Linked DNA regions of Homo sapiens: region 1 is linked to region 2. Evidence: promoter capture Hi-C in 16 types of primary human blood cells and fetal thymus (Javierre and others, 2016). All regions are on one chromosome and are shown on one strand. Each heading gives the region's core, a stretch centred on a gene start or on the middle of the fragment in contact. The rest is flanking DNA. Distances are from core to core; before and after follow the strand shown.

What was found. Contacts are between HindIII fragments. The CHiCAGO score rates a contact against its expected background, and 5 or more counts as called.
Region 1: a contact is called between a fragment that was not itself captured here and the fragment with the promoter of WIPI1 in region 2, in 11 of 17 cell types (naive CD4 T cells, naive CD8 T cells, total CD4 T cells and 8 more). The highest score is 12.7, in naive CD4 T cells.

What each region holds. Positions count from the first base shown.
Region 1 is chr17:68,208,140-68,213,823 of GRCh38, reverse strand. It overlaps a transcript of AMZ2 not described here. Among named protein-coding and RNA genes, the nearest start is that of AMZ2, 37 kb to the left of the region's middle. The HindIII fragment of the contact is 4,383 bases long and covers 802-5,184 here.
Region 2 is chr17:68,453,680-68,459,359 of GRCh38, reverse strand. WIPI1 (WD repeat domain, phosphoinositide interacting 1) reads left to right here and starts at 1,864. Exons shown (of 13, transcript NM_017983.7): 1 at 1,864-2,018. The coding sequence starts at 1,939. It also overlaps a transcript of PRKAR1A not described here. RefSeq lists silencers at 1,422-1,708, 1,445-2,124. The HindIII fragment of the contact is 11,803 bases long and covers 1-5,680 here.

The sequences.
Region 1 (5,684 bases), core at 1,744-4,243, 250 kb after region 2:
GAAAAAGAGACAAAGAGGAAAACTGGAGAGAAATGATAAGAATGTCAGAAGACCAAAATAGGAAGTCCAACGTTCAATAAAATCATAGCTCAAGATAAATACAAGAGGGAAAAGAGGAAGTTGTCAGGAGAAGTTCTCAGAATCAAACACAATTGCCAGATTGAAAACGCCCACCAAAAATACCTCGTGGATGAAAGTGGCCCACACAAGGGCGTATCACTGTAAAACTGCAGAACACCATAGACAGCGAAGATTCCGTAAGCTTCCAGCCACAAAGAATCAAGAATCAGTGTGGATTCAGACCTCTCGACAGCACATTGATAAAGTTTCTACTCTCCTTTCCATTCCCTGCTCTGACACTCATTTCATCCTACCAGATTTTTTCATGTGACCTAATTCTAAGAACTGGAAGAGGGCTTTGAAGACTTCAGAAGCTGAAGACGCAAAGTAGCCCATCCCTCTGCCCAGTTTGTTTTATTCTCCCCATTTTGGTTATTATGATTTTTTAAATCCTTTCATTCTTTTCACTCAGAAAGAGGCAAGTAATTGATTTCCTTATGAAGAGGCCAGGCAGTCCATTTTTCATGGCGTTCAGCGTGCACAGCAAATCTAAAACCATTGTCTGGCAAATGCAGCTTGCAGCCGCAATCATTTTTTTCACCAGGTAAGCCGGCTGGCGTATGTTTTTAAAATTTTATTGTTAAGTATTGTCTTTTACTGGTTAAATCAATGATAACATTCTTTACTTTGTGGTTGTGTTACTCAAAACGAGGATTTTTAACAATGATAAAAAATAAAGCTTGTTAGATCATTTTTAATGGTAATGAATTGGTTCCTGAAGATTTGATTAAAGAGAACTAGGCCAATCTAAGCAGAGTCCAAATGAGGTAGAAAGTCCATAGAGAACAGGAAAAAAGGAAGTTGTGGAACCACAGACACAGTAAAAGGAAAAAATTGGCCAGGTGCGATGGCTCACTCCTGTAATCCCAGCACTTTGGGAGGCTGAGGTCGGTGGATTGCTTGAACCCAGGAGTTTAGGCAACATGACAAAACCCCCATCTCTACAAAAAATACACAAACAAAAGACATTAGCCAGGTGTGGTGGTGTGCACCTGTATAATCCTAGCTACTTGGTAGGCTGAGGTGGGAGTATCGCTTGAACCTAGGAGGTGGAGGTGGCAGTTAGCTGAGATTGAGCCGTTGCACCCCAACCTGGATGACAGGGTGAAAGAGACCCTGAAAAAAGAAAGAAAAGAAAAAAAATTATTTAATTAAATTATTTATTTTTGTGACAAGGTCTCTTTCTGTCTCCCAAGCTGGAGTGCAATGGCATAATCATAGCTCACTGCAGCCTCAAACTCCTGGGCTCAAGGCATCCTCCTGCCTTAGCCTCCCAAAGTGTTGGGATCACAGGCATAAGCCACTTCAAGGGTAGATTTTTTTTTCTTCTTTGAAACAAGATTTGGTTCTGTCACCCAGGCTGGAGTGCAGTGGTATATTCTTGGCTCACTGCAACCTCTGCCTCCTGGGCTCAAGCAATCCTCTTGCCTCAGCTTCTCAAGTAGCTGGAACTACAGGCACGTGCCACCATGCCTAGCTAATTTTTGTATTTTTTGTAGAAAAGGGGGTGTCGATATGTTGCCCAGGCTGGTCTTGAATTACTGGGTTAAAGTGATCCACCCACCTTGGCCTCCCAAAGTGCTGGGATTACAGGTGTGGGTCACCACACCTGGCCAAAAACATGTTAAGTTTTAAAATCAAAAGAAAATCAGCAAGCCATTTTGCATATTTTTCTGGAGATATATAAATACAGATATATATAGATAGAGATAAAGATATACAGATAGATCTGGACTGGAAACCTTATGATAATATAGTATCAGTTGGGTATAACTTAAAAGGACAAAGGGAACTGATTAAAAAAGACTCAAGGCATATATATATACATACACACACATATATACATATACATATATATACATGTACATATATACATATACATACACATACATATATACATATACACATATATACATATACATATATACATATACACATATATACATATACATATATACATATACACATATATACATATACATATATATACATATACATATATACATATATATACATATACATATGTTTTCCCAATTCTTCATACCACTTTTTATTTTTATTGAGATATAATTAATTTATACACCATAAATTCACCCTTTTAAATAAGTGCACAATTTAGTGGGTTTTAGTATAGTATTCACAAGGTTGTAAAACCATCACCACTATTTAATTCCAAAACATTTTTTCTTTTTTTTTTTTTTAAGACGGAATCTTGCTTTGTTGCCCAGGCTGGAGTGCAGTGGTGTAATCTTGGCTCACTGCAATCTCCACCTCCCAGGTTCACACCATTCTCCTGCCTCAGCCTCCCGAGTTGCTGGGACTACAGATGCCCGCCACCACGCCCAGCTAATTTTTTTGCATTTTTAGTAGAAACGGGGTTTCACTGTGTTAGCCAGGATGGTCTCGATCTCCTGACCTCATGATCCTACCGCATCGGCCTCCCAAAGCGCTGGGATTACAGGCGTGAGCCACCGTGCCCGGCCAATTCCAGAACATTTTCATCACCCCAGAAAGAAGCCCCAGAATCACTGGCCCTACTCAACCATTTCCCCTCCCATTTCCTGGCAAGTATTTACTTACTTCCTGTGAATTTGCCCATTTGGGACATTCCATATAAACGAAATCATACAATACGTGATTTCACTAAACAAGATTTTTGTGTGTGGCTTCTTTCAAATAATTTTTGAAAATTGTGGTAAAGTATGCATAACATAAAATTTACACTCTAACCACCTCCCCCCCCCCCTTTTTTTTTGAGACAGGGTCTCACTCTGTCTTTCAGGCTGGAGTGCAATGGTGTAAACACAGCTCAGTGCAGCCTCAACCTCCTTGGGCTCAGGTGATCCTCCTACCTCAGTCTCACAAGTAACTAGGACCACAGGCACACACCACCACACCTGGCTAATTTTTGCATTGTTTGTAGAGACAGGATTTCTCTATGTTGCCCAGGCTGATCTTGAACTCCTGGACTCAAGTGATCCTCCCACCGTGGCCCCCCAAAGTGCTGGAATTACAGGCATGAGCTACCACACCTGGTTGTCTCTAACCATTTTTAAGTGTACAATTCAGTAGAGTTAAGTATATTCACATTGTTGTACAACCAATCTCCAGAACTTTTTCATCTTCCCAAATGGAAACTCGTACCTATTAAGCACTAACTCCCCATTCTCTCCTTCTCCCAGCCTACAGTAATCACCCTTCTACTTTCTGTCTTTACCAATTTGAACACTCTAAGTACCTCATGAGTGGAATCACACAGTATTTGTCCTTTGGTGACTGGCTTATTTCGCTTAGCATAATGCCCTCAAGGGTTCTCCATGTTGTAACATGTCGGAATTTCCTTCCAAGGCTGAATAATGTATCTGTTATATGGATCAATCACATTTGGGTTATCCATTCATCAGTTAATGCACATGTAGGCTGTTTCCACCTTTTGGTCATTGAGAATAATGCTGCTGTATACATATGTGTATACGTTTTTGCATGACCATTTGTTTGCAATTCTTTTTTGACTATATATGTATGAATAGAATTACCGGGTCATATAGTAGCTCTAAGTTTAACTTTTTGAGTAACTGCCAAAGCATTTTCCAGTGTTACATGGTTTTACATTCTCTCTAACAATACATAATGGTTCCAATTTCCCCAAATCCTCCCCAACACTTTTTATTTTTATTTTTTTTAAACATTACAGCCCTGCTAGTGAATGTGAAGTGGTATCTCATTGTGGTTTGGGTTTTAATTTTATAATATTTTAATTTTTAAAATCAAAAGAATATACTGGGGCTGGGGTGGTGGCTCAAGCCTGTAATCCCAGCATTTTGGGGGGCCAAAGGGGGTGGATCACCTGAGTTTATGAGTTCAAGACCAGCCTGGCCAACATGGTGAAACCTCATCTCTACTAAACATACAAAACTTAGCCGGGTATGGTGGCAGGCACCTGTAATCCCAGCTTCTCAGGAGGCTGAAACAGGAGAATCACTTGATCCGGGAGGTGGAGGTTGCCATGAGTCAGAATCACGTCACTGCACTCCAGCCTGAGAGGAGACTCTGTATAAAAAAAAAAAAAAATATATATATATATATATATATACATATACACACACACACACACACACACACCCACAATTATTTTCTTCTATAATATTATTTTACAAAAGAAGTCCATCACTAACACACGCTTGCATGCAAAATACAAGACACATCTAAAGGCCGGGCATAGTGGCTCACGCCTGTAATCCCAACACTTTGGGAGGCAGAGGCAGGCGGATCACTTGAGGTCAGCAATTTGAGACCAGCCTGGCCAACATAGTGAAACCCCATCTCTACTAAAAACACAAAAATTAGCCGGGCATGCTGATGGGCGCCTGTAATCCCAGCTGCTGGGGAGGCTGAGGCAGGAGAATCGCTTAAGCACAGGAGGTGGAGGTTGCAGTGAGCCAAGATCGCGCCATTGCACTCCAGCCTAGGCGACAGAGCAAGACTCCATCAAAAAAAAAAAAAAAAGTACTAAAATTAAGTTGGCAAAAATTTACATGTAGTCCTTTCTACATATAAGACATAAATATCTGACACTGAATTCATTCCTTTTATTCTCCATACAGCCTCCCCGGACAAGTCTGGCAACGATTCTGACCATCCGGCAAAACAAATTACCTTTTTCCAGTTTATGTTAGTGTCCAGCATTGGTGGGTTCCTGGTCTCACTAACTTCAAGAATGAAGCCGCAGACCCTCGCGCTGAGTGTCACAGTTCTTAAAGGCGGCGTGTCCGGAGTTTGTTCCTTCTGGTGCTCGGATGTGTTTGGAGTTTCTTCCTTCTGGTGGGTTCGTGGTCTCGCTGGCTTCAGGAGTGAAGCTGCAGACCTTGACCTTCCAGGTGAGTGTTACCGCTCTTAAGGCGACGTGTCTGGAGTTGTTTGTTCCTCCTGGTTGGTTCGTGGTCTCGCTGGCTTTAGGAGTGAAGCTGCAGACCGTCGCGGTGAGTATTACAGCTCGTAAAGGCAGTGTGGACCCAAAGAGTGAGCAGCAGCAAAATTCACCACAAAGAGCGAAAGAACAAAGCTTCCACAATGTGGAATGGGACCTGAATGGGTTGCCACTGCTGGCTGGGGCAGCCTGCTTTTATTCTTATCAGGCCCCACTCAAAATCCTGCTGATTGGTCCATTTTACAGAGAGCCGAGTGGTCTCTTTTGACAGGGCGCTGACTGGTGCCTTTACAATCCCTGAGCTAAACACAAAGGTTCTCCACCTCCCCACTAGATTAGCTAGATACAGATTGTCGATTGGTGCATTCACAAACCCTGAGCTACACACAGGGTGCTGATTGGTGCATTTATAAACCTTGAGCTAGATACAGAGTGCCGATTGGTGTATTTACAATCCCTTAGATAGACATAAAGGTTCTTCAAGTCCCCCACCAGAGTCAGGAGCCCAGCTGGCTTCACCCAGTGGATCCCGCACTGGGGCCGCAGGTGGAGCTGCCTGCCAGTCCCGCGCCCTGTGCCCGCACTTCTCAGCCCTAGGGTGGTCGATGGGACTGGGCGCCGTGGGGCAGGGGGCGGT
Region 2 (5,680 bases), core at 615-3,114:
AACTTTATGGTACACTTCATGTAATTCTCCAAACAACGTAGCACCTAGCATGCCAGATTCTAGGTTTTCTAACCAGGACAGAAATGACTGCAGCATTTGACAGAGCTGGAAGGTGGGGGGAAGCACCTTTGATCTGAAAGGTTACAAAAATGGCACAAAGTATCTAAACAGCAGTTCCATTCACTTCTGATAGTTTATACAACACCTCACAATCAGCCAAAGAGCAATAACATCTGTGAATCTATGAGCTGAACTATTTTTTACATCAGTGGAGAGAAAAAAATAATAAAGTTGAGAAAAGAAACTGTTACATTTGCATCTCAGAAAACACAAACCGGAAATCCAACCAGAAAGGTTTAGGTGAAATAGTGCCCTTTGTTCATCTATTGTAGGTCCAAGGTTAAATATATATATATATACACATACATAAAAGTAGCTTTGTCATAAACTGGGTATTAAAAGTGGGAAATGGGGAAAACCGCAATTACTTTTGCACCAACCTAATAAATTTGAATTATGCTGATTTGAGAGACTGTCATATAACAATAACTAAAATATCATCTCAAAATTTGAAAAAATGAATTAAAAATCCATCAGCAGTTATACAATCCAAAGCTGGCAGAGCTCCTGCTTCATAAACCGTATTGACAGTAATTCCGCATGGGAACATGTACAGTACTCAGCTTTTAAAAAGAGATTCTTTGTTAAGGTTTATCTCGAATTACGTGAGTTTTGAATTGTGCTATATCTTCAAGACGTTACCCCTTTCATAAACTACACTGCCCTACACACACTTTCATTTTTTTCAGCTGCGGATCGGATAGGTCTTGTTTAGATACTTTGTGCCATTTTTGTAACTTTTCAGATCAAAGGTGCTTCCCCCCACCTTCCAGCTCCGTCAAATGCTGCAGTCATTTCTGTCCTGGTTAGAAAACCTAGAATCTCGCATGCTAGGTGCTACGTTGTTTTTGCAAATTACTGTTTAGCAGTTATTTAGTGCACAGGTCTTGAAAGCAGACATGCAGACATTCTACCATTTACTGTTACTTTAGACAAATTGTTTAGCTTTGGAGCTTCAGTTGCCTCTTCTGTATATTGAGCACAATCGTATTTTCCACACAAGTTTTATAAGAATTCAAGATGACATACATAGTACGGCGCGCTTGGCAAGTAGTGAGGGTTCTCAACCGCTCGGCAATGGATAAGATAACTTGCTATCTCTCTGGCTGAGGCAGCCCCATTTCAGGAGCTTCTCTCAATGCGGCTTGAGGACTCGACAAAAGGGTGGGGCTTTGGAGTCTAACGCTCTCTGCTAAACTCTGTAAGTTTAATAGGCAGAGTTACACATGGCAAGGGGTCTGGGCGGGGTGGGAACTAGCGCGTCCTCCTGTCACCCTTGCGGCGGCCCCGACGCAGTTGCCGGACTGAAACCAGCAGATCTGGCCCCAGCCGCATTCCTTCTTCCCTCTCCCTCCCAGCTGGGCGGCTCCGGCAATGAAAACACCGCCACGTGGGCCTGCTGCCTTTGCGTCACGCGCCTTTGTCCAATGGAGAGCCGCGTTACGAAGCCAGGGGCGGGTCGCCAGCCGGGCGGGTCCGCCCACAGCTGCCACGGATTGGCCAAGGGGGGCGGTGCCCGCCAGCCGTGGCTTGGGCTCGTGGCCAATGGTGGCCGGAGGCAGGGGCCCCGCCCTATCAGGTGCTCTGGTCCTCGGGACCAGCTGGAGGGGCGAGAAGGGGCGGGGCGAAGCCGGGGACGCGGCGGGGACGGGGCGGGGTAGGGGCGGGGTGGGGACGGGGCGGGGTAGGGGCGGGGTGGGGACGGGGCGGGGTAGGGGCGGGGCAGGACCGGCGACCCGGCCCGTGGAGCCGGCGCGGGCGGGCTGCTGAGGTGGCTGTCGCCGGCTCCGAGCTGCGGCTTCCCGGGCCGAGCCCCCGATGGAGGCCGAGGCCGCGGACGCTCCCCCGGGCGGGGTTGAGTCGGCGCTCAGCTGCTTCTCTTTCAACCAGGACTGCACGTAAGCTGCGACTCGGCCCCTGCCAGGGAGGTGGGGGACAGAGTGTCAGGACCCAGGGGTGTCGTCCTGAGAGCAGCTTGTGGCTTCCGCCTCGAGGCGGCCTCGGCGGGAGGGCCGGTGTCTGCTTCGGACGCATTGGGATCTTGTTATCCCCGTACCCCTTCAGTGGGGTTTGCCGCACCCCCCACCCCACCCCACTCCCAGTGTCCTCCCAGAGCGACAAGGTTGGGCCAAGGGTGAAAGCAGGGAGTTCGCAAAGGGAGTGGTGGGGCTGCGGGGGCCACGGAATATGGGGGGAGCAGGGCGGTGGGAAAGCCAGTGACCAAAGTGGGTGTCTGGGGAAGAGAGACAGTGGCCAAAAGAAAGAGATGAGAAAGGAGAGGAAGTTGCAAGTTGACCCAGGACTCTGTAGTTGGGGCCCAGGAAGATGAGAGTACAGGAAAAACTTTCCCATTTGTCCTTGAGCATCTCAACGTGGCATCTGGGCAGGGCCTCGGACAAAGAGGCAGCCTATCCCTGCGGCCAGGCCAGCCCCTGTCCCATCCCCGACGCAGGGCATCGTGCCTGCCCGCTCTGGATGGAAGAAACCTTTGGATTTCTTTGGCTGTTTTCACATCGCCCACCCAGCCAGGCAGGATCTCCTTCTCGGAGTCCAAGACTCTTTTCCCGGGCGCAGACTGCTTTCTCTCCAGGAAACAGGAGCTCCACCCTGTTGTTTTTGAGTGGATTTTTAATGTTTTACTTCGATGTTCACATTTGGGCTTTGAGAGGGAGCTGGGCTGAAGTGTGTTTCAGGCATCTGCAGGATTCTGTGACTTACAGGCAAACGCCTGTTTCTTTCCCTATTTTCATGGAAGCGAGCCCTGGGGACCATATGGAATCATCTTTTTGGAATGTGCACCCTGAGCATCAGGCGGGGATGACCGATTCCCAGTTTCCCACTTCCTGCTGTACCAGTTTCTGTGCCTTGGCTGCTGGTGACTGAGCTACGCTAATATTGATCCTTCAGTGGTGTAATTAAGGCCATTATGTACCATTAGCCACCCTGGCTTCCATTCCCTTTATGTTTCTGTTTAAAAACACCCGGTGCTGAACAATATGCCTTTGTTTGAAAAACCCATATGTGTAATCATGTAATCGAGTAGCTCTACAGCTTGGTTATTTGAGTGACTTTCAAGTTTTTCTTGACCACAATCCACAATACGAAATATGTATTGCAACATCACCCAATACCCATAACACATACACTATTCACAAAATATCATGTGCAATTTTCTGTGTCCTTTTTTTCTAAGCTGCTTGTGACTCACTGAATTGCGTTTTAGGATCCACTCATGAGTTGAGACCTGCAGTTTATAAAAATGCTGGTATAGATAAAATCCTGATGTTCTGTAAGAAACATTTTGCAAGAGGGCATGGCTGTTGAAATGCCTGGGTGATGTTTTCCTTCCCAATTGAACACAAGTTAAGAAAGGGGGTTAGTTTGCTTGTAAGTAGTAAATGTTCTAAATTCTGCTTTGTAACATCATTAGATTTGACAAAAAAGGGTGTTAATTTATACTCTAGCCATTAAATAACGCAAAGTCCCAGCTTTCTACAGAAATTGAATAAGAATGTTATTTTCAAAACGGTAGGGTGCTTTGAAAGTTAATTTCCTTACTCCCTACTGTTAGTTTTATTTTCTTGGATGGAAGCTCTGCTGGGCAGCTTTGCCTTGCCTATAAATAAAAGTTCTTGTCACAGTCAGTTGCTTTGAGCCACAGAGGGTATGACATTGGATTTTAAAATAAGTCAAGCCCCTTACTGAATACATTTAGGTGTATTGCCATGTCTTTTTCTATAAATGTAGGCTGAATTTGGGATCCAGTATTTCCAAAGAAGGTAGGTGAAAACAGCAAACCCTTACCAGTCCCCTACGCTCATACTTCGTGATTGGTACTTGTGCTATACACTTTGGGTACTTTTTTTTTTTTTTTTTTTGAGACAGTCTTGCTCTGTCACCCAGGCTGGAGTGCAGTGGTGTGGTCTTGGCTCAGTGCAGCCTCTGCCTCCCAGGGTTCAAGCGATTCTCCTGTCTCAGCCTCTCAAGTAGCTAGGATTACAAACGTGTACCACCACACTCAGCTAATTTTTTGTATTTTTAGTAGAGACGGGGTTTTGCCACATTGCCCAGCTTGGTCTTGAACTCCTGACCTCAAGTGATCCACCCACCTCAGCCTCCCAAAATGCTGGGATTACAGATGTGACACACTATGCCCAGCCTACTTTGGGTACATTTTAAATTTGATTAATGATAAATATTTGTCCCAAGCTCTGTTTCCATGAGTGGTGATTAGAATTTTGTTTCTACAGAAAGACTTTATGGATGAAATAAGGTCTAAGTCTAAATTCCTTGATTCAGAGTCTTTTGTGGCCATTGATCAATCACGTAAAACATCACATAAAACATCACTCTGTGATTTTCTCATATGTAGAATTCTTCTGGTCCAGGAGCAGGGCTTATGTTTGAAAATTACTTTAAATTGCTGTCACTTTGCATTAATGTTATAAGACTCTAGTTACAGTATTTCTTTCCTTACTTGCAAACTTTACAAACCTCATTTCGCAGCCAAACACATCTATATTTATGTGAAAAAGTTTATGTGAAGAAAGTTTAAAAACAATAACACTACAAAATACATTTTGAAGTTTTAAGATGCTCTGGGCTTACTTTTCCAGTTGCTGTTTGTCATCATGAATACCTCAGTCTAGGTACTAAATGCCAGTTCTAAGTGCACAGCTGCAAATGTCTAACCCACCAGTTTAGCTACTTAGCAGGTTGGAGGGCTGCGAGACGTCACCAGCTACCTTGTGGATTAAAAGTTTACTGTAGTTGCCCTATCCCTGTGTCCCAGGGAAGAACAAATGTCTGGGTAGGGAAAAAAAATTCCAGGGAAAATCATGTGACCTTCTCTTTTTTAGGCTAGTGAAACAAGAGCCTTGGCCATCCAGGCTTGTAATAGTAAGTTGCTTATTTTAGTATATGCTTCCCTGTAAAGAGTGAATTTCACCTTGCCTTCCAGAGAAGCACACTTCTGTGAGTGTGCTCCGGGTCAGATTCTGTTCATCACTTAGGTGCGGAGGGCACAGCTGGAAAGAGCTGGGTGAGGATTCCCAGCTGCTGAACAAAGTTGACTTTGATGTTTACTTTCAACACAAGGCCAAGAAAATCTGGATTCACGTCCTGTCTTTATCTCCTCATTGAAAAATGAAAAATTAAGAGAACCAGATTTTTTTTAAGAGGCACTTTGATTGTCCTAGATAAATGTTTAGTTTGTATTTTGTTTGTTGGTTGTGATGATTGCTTTGTAGGATATAGTAGAAAGCAGAGTTCTCCAACTTGGGCTGCTCATTAGAATACTTGAACTTCAAATCCAATTAAACTTCCCAGCTGAGTTTAATATACATCCAGGTGTGAGAGCTACTAGTATGAAGTATCAGGACATTTTTCTGGAAACTGATGAAAGGAAGCATCTATTAAATTTTACCTACTAATGACCTACTATGCCTACTTTGAAAGTGTATTTCTTAGACCAGGCATGGTGGCTGATGCCTAAGCACTTTGGGAGGCCGAGGCAGGTGGATTACTTGAGGCCAGGAGTTCAAGACCAGCCTAGTCAACA